2 separate regions of the Homo sapiens genome follow, and region 1 is linked to region 2. The links are contacts of gene promoters, found by promoter capture Hi-C in blood cells and fetal thymus (Javierre and others, 2016). All regions are on one chromosome and are shown on one strand. The core of a region is centred on a gene start or on the middle of the fragment in contact, and the rest is flanking DNA. Distances in the headings are between cores, read along the strand shown. Region 1 has its middle 200 kb from the start of RBM26. Region 2 holds the start of MYCBP2 (MYC binding protein 2).

The links. The method cuts DNA at HindIII sites, captures the fragments that hold promoters and counts their contacts. A CHiCAGO score of 5 or more calls a contact.
Region 1: a contact is called between a fragment that was not itself captured here and the fragment with the promoter of MYCBP2 in region 2, in 1 of 17 cell types (total B cells). The highest score is 5.0, in total B cells.

Annotation. Positions count from the first base shown.
Region 1 is chr13:79,199,972-79,203,190 of GRCh38, reverse strand. No RefSeq gene overlaps it. Among named protein-coding and RNA genes, the nearest start is that of RBM26, 200 kb to the left of the region's middle. The HindIII fragment of the contact is 3,482 bases long and covers 1-3,219 here.
Region 2 is chr13:77,325,382-77,328,775 of GRCh38, reverse strand. It overlaps MYCBP2 (MYC binding protein 2), which reads left to right and starts at 1,682. Exons shown (of 83, transcript NM_015057.5): 1 at 1,682-2,302. The coding sequence starts at 2,001. LOC127898562 reads left to right here and starts at 1,788. Exons shown (of 1, transcript NM_001414702.1): 1 at 1,788-1,871. The coding sequence starts at 1,788. The coding sequence ends at 1,871. It overlaps LOC107984564 (a long non-coding RNA gene), which reads right to left and starts at 1,731. Exons shown (of 2, transcript XR_001749930.2): 1 at 1,641-1,731; 2 at 578-1,512. RefSeq lists enhancers at 1,203-1,532, 3,203-3,382 and silencers at 1,723-2,102, 2,143-2,262. The HindIII fragment of the contact is 13,146 bases long and covers 478-3,394 here.

The sequences.
Region 1 (3,219 bases), core at 369-2,868, 1.9 Mb before region 2:
CATCTTGTCCCACTGGAAGGACTTCAGGGGCAACAACACTCATGGAGCTGACATCTCCTATGATAACAATGCCTTCTTCTAGAATACCTCCTGGAGGACCTGCCTGAAGCTGTTTTACAGTTAACTTTTCTTTTATAAGTAGGCATACACTCTAAAAAGGTATAAAACTACATAGTAAATACATAAACCAGTAACACAGACATTTATTATCATATCAAGTATTATGTACTGTGTGTGATTATATGTGTAATACTTTTATACAACTGGCAGTGCAATAGGTTTGTTTACACCAGCATGAATAACGTGTTGTGCTATGATGTTATGATGCGTACAATGTACTAGGTGATGGGAATTTATCGCTCTATTACAATCTTAGGAGACCACCATGGCATATGCAGTCCATCACTGAGCAAAATATTTTGTGGCGCATGACTGCATTTAATTTTTCTTTCTTTGACCCTTCAGGTGTTGGCTGTTGGCAGGAGCATTTCCCCAACAACGTAATGTAGGTGATTGAAGAAAATTTTTAAGTTTTGAAATTCCAAGGGACTTAGAGGAAATGGACTTTCCTGGAGATGTGGCTACCTGAAAAAGAAACAGTATTAAGCAGGTGGATTGGATCCTATTTTTCAATGGGTAGACTGTGTGAGGAAGGGTTATACATCAACTTAATGGAGGGAGCCAGTGAGATGGGGAAAGCTGTGTGAGGGACGATACTCTCTGTAGCCTGTTAGAGCTTCAGACACATTGTTGAATTCACTAAGTTGACGAATGTAATTGCATTTCTTGTGGAAAACAGTGAAATATTTTTGGTCTGTACAGTGACTTGTGAGAGGGCAGAACTCGGGTGTCAGATCCCCATATAGGAACTGAGAGCAACCAGAGGAATTAAGGTCAAGAGTCCACAACAAACATCAGTGTTACCCTTTTTGAGAAAAAAAATCCACAAAAATTATAGGGAGAGAGCTCAATTCACAGGGGCTATGAAGCTGGGCATTTTGATCAAAGTTGAGCTAATATTCAAGGGACAGAAAGGCTGTATGTGACATTTGGGCCACATTGTCTGACAGTACTCATTCAGCCATGTGGTTGTTGCTGGGACTCAAAAGTGAGTTAATTACTTTGATACCAAATTTTGGACTCGTGTGCATCCTAATGTCCAGCTCCTGCTCATAAAACAAAATAGAGAAGAAAGGGTCACTACACACATACTATTATTTGAGAGCCTCCTGCAATGGGCCATTAGAAAATATGTCATAGCATGTGTCCTAAAAAATTAGACTAATGGTCAGTGCTAGTTGCGGAAGAAGCCCTTTGTAGATAAGCATCACTGGAGAAACACAGACCAAGAGAGGTAAGGTCTCTTTAAATGCCACTTTGGCCACCCTAGATTTCACGGTTGATAAAACTGATCTTGGAAGAGGAAAAGATGGGCACGAAATTCGTTAATAGGAGGGAGTAAGACTGAACAAAAGTGTCAATCCAGGGTACCAGCTCAGACATTAACAGTGGGTTGATATGGGAATGATTGCTTTCCATGTCTCCATTCCCACTGCCAAGCTGTCTATATAAGAAGGAGCAGGGAGGAGGGGAAGAACAGGTACCTCTCACCATTGGTGAGGAGGTGACTCAAAGGTGGCCCAAGCCTGCCAACAGTGATTATTCTCACATCTGTGATTCTCTTGTGAGAAGCTGATCTCTCTAACATGTGTAAACACAGGAATTTATTTACCTCCTGCCCTTTGGAAGGCTTCAGCATCGTGTCAGATAGATTAAGAAAATATTTAAACTGCCTCGGATTCCATAAATCAATTGTCAGGTTCATTTGTGGTTAAGGCAGCCACCTTGTTACACGCAGGTTGTCCCTCAGGAGTTTCCAATAAATGAACATCTGGATAGAAGTAGGAAGAGTGATGAGGTCTTCTGGGTTTAAGAGAGGAGAAGCTCCGGAAACCATTATTGTTTTTCCCGGAAAGAAGTAAGACCACTTGTGGGGTTGGGCCTAGGGGAGAAGCCTCAGCCATAAATAAATATGGCTCTTCTCACCAATTCTTCAGGGTGAGAAGTTGTAGTGAGACAGCAGACGTGTTATTCCGCTGAATTCCAGAGTGAAAGTGTAGGGCTGCTCCATATCCCAGAAACAGTGAACGTAGGCCATGGTGGGCGTGGACATCTCCCAGAAGCAGTGGACATAGGCCATGTGGGCGTGGACATCTCCCAGAAGCAGTGGATGTAGACCATGGTGTGTGTGGACATTTCCAAGAAGCAGTGGACAGGCCATGGTGGGCGTGGACATTTCCCAGATGCAGTGGATGTAGGCCATGGTGGGCATGGACATTTTTTAAGGGTCTTGGTTCTCTCAGAGGTGGAGGAGCAGGAGGCAGGCCTGTGGGCTGGAGAATGCTGTGTGGGGAACAACGACCTCTCTTTCTGTAACTGTCAAGCTGAGCTGACTTACTAAACTCACAGTATTCATGAGGGTCATTGGCTTTCTCATGGGAAATAGTGCAGGGTCAAACTGAGATGGCAGATCTCATTAGGAATGGAAAAGCAGACAGGTCAGAAATATGCCAAAAATGTATGGAGGATTCTGGACTCACATAGAAGTGAAATCAGGGGAGCCAGCTTGACAACTCTTTGAGGGACAGGGTAGCCCCAAATGATGCCTGGTTTATAATAGATGCAATTTTAGTAAGATTTCTAAAGGTTACTTCTTGTAGTTTTCAGTAGCCAACATGGCATCTTAGCACTCCAGACCCTTTTGGATACTATAAGTGCCAATAATGATCTTTCTGGATTCTACGTTTAACCTGATGGAAGAGACATGATATGCAATTAAAGAAAGTAGTCTCAGAAACATGTTTTTCCTACTCTTAGAGCAAGGTAGTCCACCAGAAATCTAATGCATGGTTATGTTGCCTTATTTATGTGTAATACATTTTACATTTATGGAATGGCAATGGGTTTTGAGATTTATGACTAAAAGAAACAAAGTGAAAAGCACCACCACCACCACCACCAATGATAGCAATACTGTTATTGAAGACTTTTTGTCCTTTGCTTTACTCGGAGTACTCTTGATAAGGTTCTACTTGAGAACATTATTTAAAGATTTAGTGCCCAGAAATACATTGCAACCTCAAAGAAAATTGATGTTTCCTCTATGAGATAATTTAAATGAAATGACAGAATGAAATGAAAGTGAAATGACAGAAATGT
Region 2 (3,394 bases), core at 433-2,932:
ATTAAGTAGCAGAGTCAGGATCCAATTCCAGGGCTGTCTGATTTCAGAGCCTTTTAGCTACCCTGCTAGGTCTTGCAATAGTAATGGGCCCTCTCATTGCTTACCTGTCAGGCCTTAGAATTCTTAGAATTTAGCTGCCTCTACACCATTGTCTTGGTTCTCACTCCAGGGTTAGGGGCTGCCTGGTCAACACTGAGGTCTTTAACTGTGCTGAAGCATTAGGATAGAAATTTAGTCTAATAAATACTTACTGGATACCTACTACATGCAAAGTCCTGAAGTGGCTGAAGGAGACACAAAAGCAGCAAGCTCTGAAGGAACTTAGGTAAGGAAACAAGACAAATACAAAAACTTAACAGGGCTAATTACAGTACTAAAATACTATGATTCCACATGTCTTGTCCTTTGTTCCTATGTTTATCCCACTGCTAATTATCTTTAAAAAAACTAAATGAAATCCATCCATTATTTAAAGCTTCAGAAAAAAATGCATTGCTTTCAGCAACCTTCCACCCTAAAACTAGAATTAATTTACTTTCCTATTCCTTGTTGTTTGCACTTCTCAAACACTAAGGAGGATTTTTTAACATTTATTTTATTTTTTTTTAAGAGAAGGCCATCCGAAGAAGAGGCACAGATATAAGAACTAGTACATAGATGAAAGATACAGTACTGGGATGACAGAACTTATAAATTATTTTGTCAGGACTGTAAATTAGGAAACTCTTCAAATTGAGAGTCAAAGGATAAAACGTAGTAGGAATCAAAGTGCATTGGCACGTATATTTCTAGAGCATATACTTAGATGGGGTTCGTAGGTTAGCTTGGAACAAAGGACTGAGCAAATGTTACTTTTTTATAGACAACAACAAGATATGTGATGGATCTGACATTTTCAGACGCTATACAGTCTCCGTCACAATTATTGTTTCAGATCGCATTCAAGAATTATCTTTAAAAATGTAAGTTTGGGCAGAAAAAAATAAACCATTAAATGACCACTGCCAAGAGATAAAAGTGCACTCTTAGGTGAGTGAGGAGTCAATAAAAAAGAGTAATTTAAAAAATATTATTGCTCCGTTGAGAACAAGAATTTGGGAATGACTCTGGCTTGTGAATACTAGCCTATCTGTTATACTTTCACACACAAAATACTTTCACACACAAAAAAGAATGTGCTAGATTACTACCTGTCTTTGTAAGTAAAAGCTGTGTTAAACAAGCGTAAATCCTAATGACAAAAACCATATAAAATAAGATCGCTAAAGGCACTTCTAATTGGGATGGTTTTCTCTGCCTTAAACTCTGAATTAACCAGCACAATTCACAGTAAATCTTCCTGTTGGCAGCAGAGCCTTGGAGAAGAGGTAGCAGAAGAGCGTGCCACTCCTCCTCTGGCGATGGGCACGTTCCCCCTTGCTTTCTGGTCCTCGTTCTTCCACCTGGAGGGAACCTGAAGTCGAACGTCAGTAGCTGACAGCCTCCCCAGCACTTTCCTTACTCTTCTTCAAGCTGCCAGTAAAACCCGGAGAAGTGGACTACTTCAGATTCCGCACAACCCAACAGCCCCAAACCCAAAGCCCCGAGGCGGAGGGAGTGGTGGCGGAGAGGGGGTGGGGAGGAAAAGGGGCGGCAGTTACTGAGCATGTGCGAGGAGTGGCGCATGCTCTGTGAGGCCGGCAGCTTCCCATTGCGGGTAGCCCCGGCGGTGGTGGCGGTGGTAGCGGTGGTGGCGGCGGCAGTGGCGGCACCGCCTCCTCCTCACATTCCCGGGGTGGCGGGGTTAGATGAGCGGCCCCAGTAGCGGCGAGGGCGGCGCGGGGGGGAGGAGGAGAAGAAGGAGGAGGAGAAGGAGGTCGCTGTCTTTGTAGTCTCCCTGCTGCGGGAGCCAGAGGCCGCCGCCGGAGCCGTCGTCGTTGGAAAAGGGCTGTGTGTGCGCGCGCGTGTCTGCCCGCCCGGCCCGCGGGGACGAGGCGGCGGCGGCGGCGGCGGCGGCGAGGATGATGATGTGCGCAGCGACTGCCTCCCCCGCCGCCGCCTCCTCGGGGCTCGGCGGGGACGGATTCTACCCAGCCGCCACCTTCTCTTCCTCCCCGGCGCCGGGGGCGCTGTTCATGCCGGTTCCCGACGGCTCCGTGGCTGCTGCGGGGCTGGGGCTGGGGCTACCCGCCGCGGACTCCCGGGGTCACTACCAGCTGCTGCTGTCAGGCCGGGCCCTGGCCGACCGCTACCGGAGGATTTATACCGCTGCGCTCAATGACAGGGACCAGGGGGGCGGCAGCGCTGGACACCCAGCCTCCAGGTGCGTCCCCAGGGTGCCCTTCCTTGCGCCCCATGCCGCCCTTCCTTGCGCCCCATGCCGCGCGTGCACCCGCGTGTGTGTGTGCTTGCGTGTGTGTACCTGCGCATTTATTGAGCTTTCAGTCCGCTCTGGATGTCTGTTGGCAGGAGCACTTATCGAGATAGGAGGGTGCGGTGGCTGCAGTTTCTCGTGTGTGTGTGTGTGTGTGTGTGTGTGTGTGTGTGTGTGTGTGTCTGCCTGCCTATGTGGGGGGATAGTGAGGGGTGGTAGGGGAACCTGTGATGCTGGAAAAGGCGATGGTGCTGGTCGGCTGTGACACGTGTGTGTATCGTTGAGGTAGGAGGTGGCATGGGTAGAGAGGGTAAGAGGATGATACACGAAGAGAATTGCAACAGTGGCAAGGGAAGTGGCGTTTTCAGTGTCTCTGCCGCAATGTTATTTGCACGTGCCGCCTCTCCCATGACATTCCTTCCAGCCCTTTCCACCTCCCTTCAATCTGCCTTTCACCAAGAGGAGTCATGGTATAGATTGGTTGAGTTTTGGATAAGCAGGCCCGAGGGATAGGCGTGAGGTTTGCTTTAAAAAGATTTATGAATAAGGGACGCAGATGGAGATCTGTGTGGATGCGAAAGGTGTCTGATAGAGATTTTTAGAGCTGTACTTTGATAACCGGGCCTTTTGGTCTTCTAGAAATGAGGTTGCAGTTACTCTTGTGATCTGATGTCCCATCGGCCATTTCTCTTCATCCTCTGTTCGATTTCCTCTGTTACTTACAGGCTTTAGAGTAGAGAGGGTTTTGTAGGGAAAAGGGGAAAACTGCAGAACTTCAGAATATGACAGCTGGTACAGCGTTCAACTGCCACTAGCTAGAAAATCTGAATAGCGCGTAGATTTGTCTCTTTTACTTGGGTTGGCTACACCTTCAGCTTCCTTGATGTAGATGTTCAGTTGGTTTCATTTTCTTTTTCTTAAAATGTGGGTGCTTTTTTTTGCTGAGGGCTCTCCTATTGTTTTCTTTTCCATGCCCTTACATGCCGCATACCCTGAAGGTTGGTGACTGACTTGTTTCACCAGCTTTGACAGTGGTAATTG